3 separate regions of the Homo sapiens genome follow, and all the other regions are linked to region 3. Evidence: promoter capture Hi-C in 16 types of primary human blood cells and fetal thymus (Javierre and others, 2016). All regions are on one chromosome and are shown on one strand. Each heading gives the region's core, a stretch centred on a gene start or on the middle of the fragment in contact. The rest is flanking DNA. Distances are from core to core; before and after follow the strand shown. Region 1 overlaps LOC101929976 (a long non-coding RNA gene). Region 2 overlaps DNAJC10 (DnaJ heat shock protein family (Hsp40) member C10). Region 3 holds the start of DUSP19 (dual specificity phosphatase 19).

Region 1 (3,993 bases), core at 1,306-3,805, 410 kb after region 3:
GGGGTCAGGAGTTTGAGACCAACCTGGCCAACATCGTGAAACCCCATCTCTACTAAAAATACAAAAATTAGCTAGGCTTGGTGGTGTACGCCTGTAAAACCAGTTACTCGGGAGGCTGAGGCAGGAGAATCACTTGAACCCAGGAGGCAAAGGTTGCAGTGAGCCGAGATCACACCACTGCACTCCAGCCAGGACGACAGAGCAAGATTCCATCCACCACCCGCCTCCCCTCTAAAAGAAATAGTGACTCTCAGGTTCTACCATAGTCCTACTGAATTAAAACTTCCACATCAACAAGATTTCTCAGGTGATTCTTATGTGCCTTAAAGCTTGAGAAACATTGGTAGGTGATTGGTTTCCCAAATACTGGTCACCACACCAGGACCATTTGGCTAAATAAGAATGTCTGGAGAGCTTGTTAAAAAGAGGCTTCGGCACCCATCACTAGAGATTTTAATTCAATTGGTCTGAAATCCAGGAATATTAACAAGATCCCCCAGGTGATTGTGATGCATCATTGCCCTAGGCCTAGGACAATCTAGCCCAACTTTGACTTGATCTAGTTCTAGATAAATGATTCTCAACCTTGACTGCACATGAGAATAGCTTGGAGAGCTTTTAAAAGCTATTGATAGCTGGGTCTCACTCTGAGATATTCTGATTTACTTGCCCTGTTGTAGAGCTCAGGACTCTATATTAATTTTTCAAGCTTCCTAGGAGTCTTTAGTGTGCAATTAAGGATTGAGAAATACTAGTCCTTGTAAAACAGTTAAATGGTTTAGGTGGGAACAACTGAAGACCTTGGAATTTTTTCTCTAAACAGGTGTAGGGTAAACCCCCTGAGTACCTTTTGATTCAAGAAGCCAAAAAGAGACCCAGAGCCAGCAAACGAGACATGGGGTTGTACTGGGCACTTATATACAGGGAAGAGAGAATCCAGTGGTGGTGGGCTGGACAAGATATCTGCATGGCCCTGTGGCAGTGAGCTGGCCAGGAAAACCAAAACTGCTTGCAAACAGCATGTGGTTTATATAGCATTTTTACTTAACACCATCATCCCTTAATGACCTGCACCTGGCAACCTTCATGTGCTCCAAATGGGCCCGTGTGTGGCCCATGTTCCCATGGGATGCTCCGAGGGCTCAGATGTTCCTAATAGACAAGGAATGAATCTCTGGGTTGGCCACTCCCGGATTCCTTAGCTCAGAACGCACACGCAGGTGCGTCTGCCATATGGGAGCATTTTCAGGGTATGCTTATGTCATTGCTATCAGGGTGTTTACCATACACATGGCGTAAAAGGTGGATTCAAAGGAGAGAGTTAAGAAGTGTGGGAACCACCTATGATAAGGCAGTCAAGAGCTGTGCGAATAGAATGTAAAATACAAGGGATTATAAACAGAATTAATGACGAAAATATGAGTGATGGGGAGTTCATTAAAAATCTTTAATCAGGAAGATGGGAAAGAAATAACATGCTTAATAGGGAAAAATAGCGAAGGTTGCTGTTTTAAAGAAGGGTGAGATCTTAACAAAAGGTAAAGTCAGAGAAGAGACTGAAAATAGAAAACAAAACAAACTTCCAACTTTTAATACATGGAAACTATAGCAAAATTCAACAAATTTTCCTTGACTGGTGGGAATATTTGTTAAAAGATGGGTTAAAAACCCACATCTGGGAACAGTCTTTGACTTTGTCAAAACAATAATTCCCATCACTTTAATTAAGCAACACCTGACCCTACTGGGCTATTGTATTAAAAGTCACACCTAACAAACAAAATGGGCCAAAACAAGTAGTATTCCTTTGTTTTGAGGAATGATCTTTGGAGTCCTGTAAATAGTGTGTCTGGGGTGAGTGAAGGGTCAGTACACTTAATCTTGCCTTATTAAAGGTTATTTGGTCTTTTCAGTCTAGAATAGCTTCTTTGGGGGAAACAGTTAATTCAAAGTTCAACCTTCCTGAAAGGCTGTTTCTCTCCTCTATCAAAGGCCTCTTGAAAGGAAAATGGATATGCTGTGGTCAAGAATAGGCCAAGATAAACATCCAGTACAGCATGATGAGTGGGATTGGAGCACAGGTGCACAGTCCCATGCATTATGTAACCTGTTTGTTAAGCTCATACTTGGCTCTGAGCCACTGTTGTCTGTAAGGAGTGTAACTGCCCTGCTGCCACCGGCTCGCACGAGGCAGGAGAGAGAGAGAGAGTAAAGCTGCTGACTCTGTAAGAGAGAGCCAGAGCTAACCACCTTGCAGGCAGACAGTGGGGAGCCAGGAAATGGTGAGTGCTCCAGGGAGTGCAGCTGTATGCGTTGGGGCAGCAGGAGCCGAAGAGCTGGCTGCTGAGAAGGGCTGTGGCAGGAGCAGGCAGCCGAGACAAAGGCTTGTGCCCAGAGAGAGAATAAAGCCATATTTCACCTGACTGCAGCCCCCTGAGTGTTCTTTCAACTACCTACCAGTCATCCACCAACTCCCCCTTGAACCTCAGTTTGGGCTCAAACCTGACATCTCTCTTCCATTTCCTCCATTTCTAGAGACTGTCTAGGGGTATGCATGTGTGTGTGGCTTACAGTTACTCTTGGTGGCCTCTATTGGTTTTTTTTGCCTTTTTTTCGGTCTCATGCTAGTCTCCACTGAAGTGAAGTTGATTGGTCTGGTCTAATCTTGCAGAGGTATGCTTATAACACTCATCTGTAAGTGCCCTCTGCCTAAGTCCATGGTTCCTACCATTTGTCACTGTTGTGATGTGCCTGCCCCATATCTCCTGTCTTGACTGCAGATCTCTAGTTGTCCAGCATCCTTCTCAGAACCCCTACAAATCCTACGTCTCTGAGCCCTTGGGAATCATAAGTCAGCTGTGGAGAATTGGTGCTACCTCAGGCTACTCTTAAATACTCACTGCTCTCTGATCATGGACTAATACCTCTCAGCCATGCTATACTGAGAAGGACAGAGCAGCCTCCCAGATAATTTTGGATTCCTTCTCCACCCATTTAGGAATCTCTTTTCCCTTTGACTGAAGTCCATGGGTTGGGAAGGGTGTTGCATCTTCATCAGCACCATCCCACTTCCCTCCTTCAATCCTTTCCCTTAGCAGACTCTAATATCTCTGGTGGGACTTCCTTGATATTATATCTCAAGTATTCTTTACACTATGGCTTCTAATAAAGCCCTATTTTCAGATCCCAAGGGTTTACTTTTCATTTGAAAGAAAGAGATTTTGGAACTTATAAAATCTCTCATTTTGGGTTGCAGTTTTGGAAGTTGAACATTGACATTGTTCTGTCTTTTCCAGATATAGCAATTCTAATCCCTCTGTGACAGAATCTCTTCTGTTTGGACTGTTGACTCACAAAGCCTAAAATATTTACAATCTGGTCCTTTACAGAAAATGTTTGTTGACTTCACATGTGCAGAAAGGAATCTAAAAGTTTAGGACTCCAAAGACTTCGAACAGGAATGATTTGTTATATGGGTGCTGTGTCCCTCTACCCTCAACTGTATTGTCTGAGGAGACTCAGAGGATACTCCCTTGAAAGCAGTGAGAAACACATTAGTGAGGGGAACACCCACACTCTGAAGAGCACTGTAGTGGCTCTCATATGTAAGCCACATATGATGGTGGGAAATACCACCATTGTGATGGGTTCCCTGATTCCAATAGGGATGATGGGACCCTGAAAGAGCAGAGGCCAATGGACAATACTTAACTGCCAAAGATAAAGCAGCCATATTTGTTATAAAGGCTGGCAGATTCTGATTACTGTAAAGGTAATCAGACTATTTAGACCTGCAGGAATTTTTGGTAGTGACTAATTGACCATGTGGTTACCAGAAATGAAAATGATGAGCAGCCTACTAAAAAGCTGCTTAATTTATAAAACAGAAACTGCAGGTCTGGTGGCTAAAAACCTGACTTGAGCCACCTAGTGGAGAGTGATGGATTTCTACCTACTTTTTAGAGCTAAACCAGTTCACAGGTTAGAACCCCC
Region 2 (4,460 bases), core at 1,318-3,817, 360 kb after region 3:
GTATGCCATCCTATGGGCACACTCCAAAATGATTACAATAGTAACATCAAAGATCACTGACTGTAGATCACTGTAACAGACAGAATAATAATGAAAAAGTTTGGATACCAAAATGTGAGAAAGAGACATGAAATGAGCACATGCTATTGGAAACACGTTCAGCTGATAGACTCGCTTGATGTAGGGTTGCTAAAAACCTTCAATTTGTTAAGGAAAAAAAAGTGCATTATCTATGAAGTGCAATAAATCAAAGTGTAATAAAATGAGGTACACCTGTACTTTGTCTTCATCGAGCACTTCTCATATTTGCCAAGTTCCCACTGATTGCTGAGTAATAAGAATAAAGTTAAAATATTTTAAATACTGTATCATCACAGCTCAATGGGATGTTGTGCCTAACAGTGACCCAGAATAGAATTATTACATTTCAAAATGCAACTTTCCACTTCTAAACTATACAACTACAGCTACTGTCTGTTAATATACATACAACTCCAGTTAACAGCTTCTATTAGCAAAGTAAAATGTAATTACTTTGCCTGTAAGGTACAGATTAACTTTTTCCCCACAGGTCTATCTTATACTTGAAATGTAGGTGAACACTGAGTCCTGTACCTGTTTCTAATTAGCCTGAATTAGTTGCACGTATTTAGAATACCATGCATGTTTTAATGTCTTACTGTAATTTCTGAAATTTTTATTTTAAAATATTAACTAATTTTAACATGGAATCATATGGAAATCCTTTAACCAAAAGCAGATTACCCTCGCCTTTTTATCTTGAATGTGAAAGCACATTTTTACAATGTTAAATTTTTTAAGTGAGTAAAATTTGTAATTTGCATCAGGTCATTTTACAGATAAAATATAAACTGCACTATTGGCTAGATATCACATGTTCAAATCTATAATTTTAGCAAGTATGTATTAATGTTTTGAATTGTTAAAAAAAAGTCAATCTTTTCAAATAAAGTGATTTTCCAAGGTAATGTCTTATTTAGGGCTTATATTAAATTTAATCCCCGCAATCCTTACTGTATTATGTAGGTCTCTTATTTTATTCTTTCAGAGTTTACAGTAGCTGTCAGAATTGATTAAACCTACTTAACCTATGCTGCATATAATAGAAGAGCTTAGAAGGCATTTGCTTGTTGACTTTCTAGAGAGCCAGAAATGATAACATCTGCTTAGCAGAAAAATGCCTGGGAAAGCTTCACTAGAGGGTCCTTCTCTATCACAACAATGCTCCTGCTCATTCCTCTCATCAAGCAAGGTTAATTATTTATGAATTATCTCTGAAGTTTTGTGGCTGCAATTTATCTTGAACTACCATTTGGGGTTCTATATGAACTATTAACAGTTCTTAAGCTTTTCTGCATAGTGACACATCTGAAAAAGTGTGAACCCATATACAATATAACTATCAGTGAAGTCTCATTCTAGGTAGACTCATGGATTAGTAAGCTTGCAAGTTTTGTTCAGTTCCTCTATCTGTAATTCCGATGTTTTCTGAACCATTGGTACACAAAACACTTACTGATATATTAGGAGATGAGAGACAATAAAAACCACACAGGAACAGCTATAGGTTTATATAACTCACACGAGAGTTATGATTCTACCAGCTTGTGACATGAGCATTAATTCTATTAACAATCCAAATGAATCAAATTGTCTTATTTGCAGAACACAGGAAAGATGTATTTTCTATTCACTTAGAACATGTTCAAGTGTTCACCTAGAAGGCTTTTAACAAAGTAACACATTGAACAGCTATTTTGTATGTGAAGCTCACCAGCATGATGTAGAAAATAAGATTAAAATGCCACCCTTGGCCAGATGTGGTGGCTCATGCCTGTAATCCTGGCACTTTGGGAGGCCAACGTGGGTGGATCGCCTGAGGTCAGGAGTTCGAGATCAGCCTGGCCAACATGGTGAAATCCTGTCTCTACTAAAAATACAAATACAAAAATTAACTGGGTGTGGTAGCGGGCACCTGTAATCCCAGCTATTCAGAAGGCTGAGGCAGGAGAATCGCTTGAACCCAGGGGGCAGAGGTTGCAGTGAGCCAAGATCGTGCCACTGCACACTGGTCTGGGTGACAAAGCAAGACTCCGTCTCAAAAAAAAAAAAAAAAAAAAGCCACCCTTGCTTAGAAGGAACAAACTGTATAAAATCAAGTAGCTGTAATAAATTTTTAACGATAATATATGAAAAACATATAGATTTATATGTATTTTTTGCGACTGGTACGCTATTTTAGTTTTCTTTTTTTTTGTGGTGCCATCATGGCTCACTGCAATATCAGCCTCCCAGATTCACGCGATTCTTGTGCGTCAGCCTCCCAAGTAGCTGGGATTACAGGTGCGTGCCACCAGGCACACCTAATTTTTGTATTTTTAGTAGAGAGGGTTTTCCCCATGTTGGCCAGGCTGGTTTCTAACTCCTGATCTCAAGCGATCTGCCTGCCTTGGCCTCCCAAAGTGCTGGGATTATACAGGTGTGAGCCACCGCGCCTGGCTGTATTTTAGTTTTCTAAATTAAATACAATTGTGATAGAGCAATATAAAATTGAAATTTGATTTGAAGTTTAATTTATTGCTCTGAAATAGAAAAAATAAACCTATTATTACTGTACAAAGGATGAAAGTATAAGAATCTATTCTGGTATACAATTTTCTAAAATGCAATGGAAAATGCAGAACTGTATTTTTATGGCCATTTTCACACAAAGTTGCCAATCAAATTAAATCTACTTCCAAAATAACTATACCTTTATCCAAAACTCTAAAATCAAAAAGCTCTGAGAAGTTTTGCTGTAAGTTTGCAGCAAGCTCACTTGGCATCCAAACCTGATCTGAACTGATTTTTAAATTTCTTTTATTTAGTATATATACTTACACATTTTGCTACATAAATATTAATGTTTTTATTATGGTACACTTCCCCACATTCTGCTAGAAATATTTAAGATACAGTATATTACATTATTACTGTTCGAAACTCCAAAAGATTTCTAAATTTCAAACATATATATCCCCTAGAGTTTTAGATGAGATCGAACTTGTATTAGTTTTATAAAACCTTAAGCCCACAAACTTACCAAATTCTCTTCTTTCCAATGTTATGATTTCAGGATCATCATCATAAATACCTAATTTTAAAAGTATATAAAAATTATAAAATCAAAACTTCACCATATAAATTGCAACATAAAAATAGATTACTCGTTTTAATCATCAAAAAAATCAAACTACTATATTATATCTCAAACTTAGAGAATATGCAACATCCTAAGTGAAAAAAAAGTAAATAATACTATCAGTACATTTAGGGTGATCTAAAGATATTAGAATTCTGATATGGACTCTCATAGATGTGTATGCGGTAGTTCGTAATATTCACATAATTTTACCTCCATATAAAATTTATATTATGGTTTTAAAAATAATTACAGATTCAGGAAGGTGCAAAAATATAGACTCTTGTATACTTTTTACTCACCTTCCTCTAATGGTGACATGTTATGTAGCTATATAGCACAATATCGAAAACCAGGAAATTGAGAGTGGTACACTGTTAACTAGACTACAGACCTCATTTGATTTTCAGATTATATGGTTTTTAACACATGGTATCATGTTAGAATATCTTCTGCTAAAAAGCTTAGAGTATTTGCAGAGGCAGACACAAATATTTAGTAAATATACATTTTTTAGGCTTTGTGGGATGTATGGCTTCTATCACAACTTCTCAACTCTGCTCTTGAAGTGTGAAAGAAGTCACATATATTATGTAAACAAATTAAAGTAATTCCATTCCAATAAAACTTATTTATAAAAGCAAATGGCAAGCCAGATTTGGCCTATGAAATGCAGTCTGCTAACTCTTGATATAGACTATCAAGGTGTAGAGAATATACTTGAAAATACTATTTTGAAAAAAAATCATATTTACTAAAAGCAAATCCTCCAGATATAAATTTAAAATACTTCATTTAGTCTAATACAGAAGCATATTCAGTTCTTAGCCTGCATTTGAGGTTAATTAATGACTAGGAGAAACACTGGGTCTCTGAACACACCTTCCTCCCTTGATACCTGTGTGTTTACAATCTCTCTTCCTTAGTTCCTTTACTTTGTTTCCTCCTTCCACCTTATTTTTTCCTCCATGTTTAAGAAAAAAAACACCTTTCGTCCTTCTCATATGGAACCTTTATTGATAATGTTTCAAGGTATTGACCTTAATGTCAACCGAAGGCCAAAACACCTTAAAAATCAGTAAGGGTTCCATATGAGAAGGACGGCATTTCTATTGAAGAGATCATTACTAAACTTGAAGTTTCGCCTTTCTTGGACAATATGATGCTCTAAAATATATTGAAAGAAATTAATATTATTCAATACTAAAAAATACTGAAAGAAATATTTAGCTACCCCTAATGCAAACATATAGTCATA
Region 3 (4,438 bases), core at 281-2,780:
AGATACTGTTACTTCATCTTTACAAATGGCTTTTTGGAGGACCAGAAAGGATAAATGGCTTGCACCAGCTAATCTAGTAAATTAGAGGCGGAGCAGGATTGAAAACTTGGTCTATGTGAGGCAGCCTAGTATAACAATGGACAGCAGGAGTCCATCAGACTTGGGCTTGATGCATACGTCTGTTATTTACCAGGTGTGTTACCTTGTGTAAATTACTTCACCAATTTTAAATCCTGGTTTCTATTTGTAAAACAAAGCTGATAATCCCTACTTCACAGGATTCCTCAAAGGAGTAAGACACTAGGTGAACAGCACCTGGGCTATTTCTCAGTCTTCTCTCTATTCAAGAATGCCTTAGCTGCATAGTGATAAGTCATTTAGTCTTTCCAAGTCTTAATTTCTCTATTCATAAATAGAAATAATTCAGACGTACTTGAAAACATTCTTGACTATTTTTTTAAGAACACCATACCATATTCTTGCCAAATTAACAAGTTTGCACTTTTATAACCTTGCTTCATTTGCTATTTGTGAACTATGCTTGTATAGGGGCTCAGTATTTCCATAATACGAAATAAATCATAAGATCTTAAGATCTCCTTCTCTTAAACACTCCAAAAACAGACACCATGAACAGACGTGGCCACAGGAGGCATGTATTCCGCACGGTCTGTAAGAGCTGCGCAGGCCAGCAAGCACAGGACTATTTCGAGTATTAACTTTTCTATAACTTTAACCATTGTCACTTGTAGTTCTGCCTGATACAAACATTCTTTTTTCATTCCTTTTTTTTCAAGCTGTATTTTTTATAAGCCAAGAAAACACAACATCAATGTGTTATTCTCCAGAGAAGTTAGAGAAACGGGAAGAAAGCTTTTCTAAAATTCAAATATGCAGTGCCAAGTGCTACGAGAATAGCATCTATGCTTCTTATGGGTACACTGTGAGGCAGAAACGGCTCTAGCTGGCTAATGGAAGTTCCATATCCAAAAAAGGAAACAGTTCAGCTTTTCGGCAGGATAGCTGATAATACAGACTATTACGCATAAAGGGGGAAAATGAGAACGTAATCTGGCTAAAAGGACTCAATGATCTAGTGGCAAGTCGATATACTCACCTAGGAGCAACCATGGCTTAATAACGCCAACTTGCAGGTCCGAGCTAAGGTCCTGCACATAACCACAACCACCCCCACTGCTCGGCTCTACTTCTTCCACAACATGAATTCTGGCATCTTTCCATGTTTCTATAATTTTCTTTCCAGTTAGCGTTGTCACCCTGGTGCATTGCTTCCTGAGATTATTCCGGGAGAATGCTTTAATTTCCTGGTTAAGGGAGTACATTACATGAGCAGTGGCTGGGAACAAATACAAACAAATCCAGCAGGCATAGAAAACGGCTGAACTGCTAGTCCCTTATTGCCCAGGTAACAAAGCCAGCCTCAGAGGTGCTCGCCCATCCAGGTAACCGCAGCAGCCACAGACCAAGAGACTGAGTCGTCCAGCTCCGTTTATCCCAGCGATGCAATGTAAGGCGAAATTTGATTGGTCATTGAGACACAAGTGCCGATTGGATGCTGTTTCTTCTTCCTGTCAGCCAGAAACCTGCATTTTCCCGAAAGGCTCGAGGGATCCACTGGGGAAGATTTCTTATTGTTGCTGTTTAAATTTAGCTTTCTAATACACGCAGAATGGTAAAATATAAGACTTCGTTGGAGAGAGGAATGATATGTCCTGGTTCTTTAAAGGCAGTGATTTTCTGATATATTCTGTTAGTGTCACTTACGGCAGTGACCATGGACGATCCGGGCTGACCTGTGTATCGCTCCCGCTTGAAAGAGACCGGCGGAGTCACCTTGCAAATCACCCTATGTCCCAAAGCCTTTCCTGCCTGTCTGCTTTTAGGCTAGTCCAGGAGGGCTAGAGCAGACGTTAAAAGTTATTTCTCGCTTCCTGTATCCTTCACACCTTCTGCTTTTGCTGTTAATGCAAGAGGAACGTTTACTAGATAAAGTTGTTGTGCGTATTTGTGAGGCAACAATTTAAATAAACTGGGAAAAAAGATATATTTTTTAAAATTTATGCTCATATATGTAGATTGACAAGAGCTTAAAATTTATTTATTTTCTGACTTTCAGCCTACATTTTCATTTCATACAGTAAATATACATCCTAAATAAGAATTGCAGCAAGTCCATCCATACGAAGAATTAAGAAAATCAATTGTGTAAGCATCCAAATTTGTAAAACAGATAAATAAATTATAGAACGATGATTCTGATTACCAAAAAAAAGTTTTGCAAAAGAAATCACAAGATTCCTTTAAAGAGAAATTTTTCAAACCCCTATTAAAGTAAATGTAATTTTAAATGAATTTCAACACAATGTATAAACACATATATAAAATGAAGAAGTTGCACTTATGAAAACTTTTCTTCCAATACCACATATTAAAATTTGTGTTGTTGTTGAAACTTTCTGACATAAAAAAATTCAACTGTTATGGATTGACTATTTCTGTCCCTTCAAAATGCATATGTTAAAGCTTTAAACCTCAAGGTGATGGTATTTAAATGGGACTTTTGGGATGTAATTTAGGATTAGACTAAGACCCTAGGGTAGGGTCCTCATGATGGGTTTAGTGGCTTCAGGAGAACTGAAAGAAATCTGCCTGCTCCCCTATATGGACCAAGGAAAGACAGTATGAGGACATAAGGAGAAGCTGGCTGTCTGCAAGCCAGGAAGAGAGCTTTCAGCAGGAACTGAATAGGCCAGCACCTTGATCTTGGACTTCTCAGCCTCCAGAACTGTAAGAAAATATATTTCGGTTGTTTAAGCAACAAAGTTTATGGCATTTTGTTAGAGCAGCCTGAGCAAACTGAGATATAAACCAAACTTCTCCCTCTTGAAAAAGGAATAGGCCCAGTACAGTGGCGCATGCCTGTAATTCCAGCACTTTGGGAGGCCAAAATGGGTGGATTGCTTGAGCCCAGGAGTTCGAGACCAGCCTGGGCAACATGATGAAACCCCAACTCCACTAAAAAATACAAAAAATTAGCCAGGTTTGGTGGCACGTGCCTGTAGTCTCAGCTACCTGGGAGGCTGAGGTGGGAGGATCACCTGAGCTAAGGAGGTTGAGGCTGCAGTGAGCCATGATCATGCCACTGTACTCCAGCCTGGGCAACAGAGTAAGACCTTGTCTCAAAAAAAAAAAAAAAAAAAAAAAAGAAAAGAAAAGAAAAAGAAAGAGAGAGAAAAATATATATATATATAAGCTCAGGCTATCTACAGGATGTCCTAAAATGAAAAACTGAAGAGATTATTTGCATCATTTAAACAACAATCACAGGCTCATCAAAAAACAACTCTAACCATAAATCAATCCATATATTTATCATAATAATGATCAAAAAAATAAGTACTATTAAGCATTCACTGCATGCTAGGCACTGCGCTTATAAACAATTTTAGATTCTTAGTATTATCCCTTAGCTGCTTAACAATGCTTTACACACATTATCATATTTGACCTCACCCCTATTTGTGATTAGAATCACAAATAAAACCTATGTTTGTTTCAGTCCAGTGCCTTATCTTTTATTTACTGTAGAATACGGCCCTGCTTCCAAAATAATTACAGTTAACGAATATTTACTGAGCATCAGCTATGTGCCTGGCACTGTTATAGTCATTGGAAATACAGCAGTGAATAAAAACAAAGTCCCTTCTTTCATGGATCTTATATCCAAGTGGAGAGAGCAAGAAACAAATATACATATAACCATGTTCGGTCATAATTTAAATGCTAAAAAAAGAAAAATCAAGCAAAATAAGGGAACAGAGTGAGAGGGCAGCGTGTTATTTGTTTTAGGGTGGTAAGAGAAAGCACTTCTGATACAGTGAAAATTGAACAGAGACTTGAATAAAGTGCAGAAGCCAGCCCTGTAGATATATGGGGGAATAGCTTAATAGCCAAGTGTCTAAATCTTCTGACAGATTTGGACTGTCTATGCCAAGTGCTGAAACAGGAGTGCACTAGTAGGAGATGGAGAGGTTCAAGAAACACCTGGGTAGCTAACTTGGCTTTAAGGGAGTGAATTAGGGGAAAGAGTTGGAGGAGATGTGGACAGAGAGAAATGATAATAACTTTGGCTTGTATTCTGAGTGATAGGAAGCCACAGGAGGGAACTAGGGAAAGGAGTCATATGATGGATCCTGTGTTGTGCTACCCAGATCCTTCTTCAATGAATACCTATTGTCTCCACTACCGGGTGTACTATTGGCTGACTGGTAACAATCCCTTCAGGGACTGCTGCAGCTGCAGAGGGCTGCTTTGCCGAGGTTGTGTCCCTTATGGAATAGACCACATCCATGGCTGATTGATGAGGGAGCATAAAGATCTGTATGTTAGCCCAATTTGAAACAACTCTGAGGAATCA

The links. The method cuts DNA at HindIII sites, captures the fragments that hold promoters and counts their contacts. A CHiCAGO score of 5 or more calls a contact.
Region 1: a fragment that was not itself captured here is called in contact with the fragment with the promoter of DUSP19 in region 3 in 7 of 17 cell types (activated CD4 T cells, naive CD8 T cells, total CD8 T cells and 4 more); the score reaches 10.0 in activated CD4 T cells.
Region 2: a contact is called between a fragment that was not itself captured here and the fragment with the promoter of DUSP19 in region 3, in 4 of 17 cell types (non-activated CD4 T cells, total CD4 T cells, total CD8 T cells and 1 more). The highest score is 9.4, in non-activated CD4 T cells.

What each region holds. Positions count from the first base shown.
Region 1 is chr2:182,667,059-182,671,051 of GRCh38, reverse strand. All of the region lies in intron 6 of LOC101929976 (a long non-coding RNA gene), which reads left to right. It also overlaps a transcript of PDE1A not described here. Among named protein-coding and RNA genes, the nearest start is that of DNAJC10, 47 kb to the left of the region's middle. The HindIII fragment of the contact is 3,687 bases long and covers 712-3,993 here.
Region 2 is chr2:182,720,719-182,725,178 of GRCh38, reverse strand. DNAJC10 (DnaJ heat shock protein family (Hsp40) member C10) reads right to left here. Exons shown (of 24, transcript NM_018981.4): 5 at 3,104-3,154. Among named protein-coding and RNA genes, the nearest start is that of DNAJC10, 6.7 kb to the right of the region's middle. The HindIII fragment of the contact is 2,201 bases long and covers 1,467-3,667 here.
Region 3 is chr2:183,075,839-183,080,276 of GRCh38, reverse strand. DUSP19 (dual specificity phosphatase 19) reads right to left here and starts at 1,530. Exons shown (of 4, transcript NM_080876.4): 1 at 1,118-1,530. The coding sequence starts at 1,343. The HindIII fragment of the contact is 1,671 bases long and covers 876-2,546 here.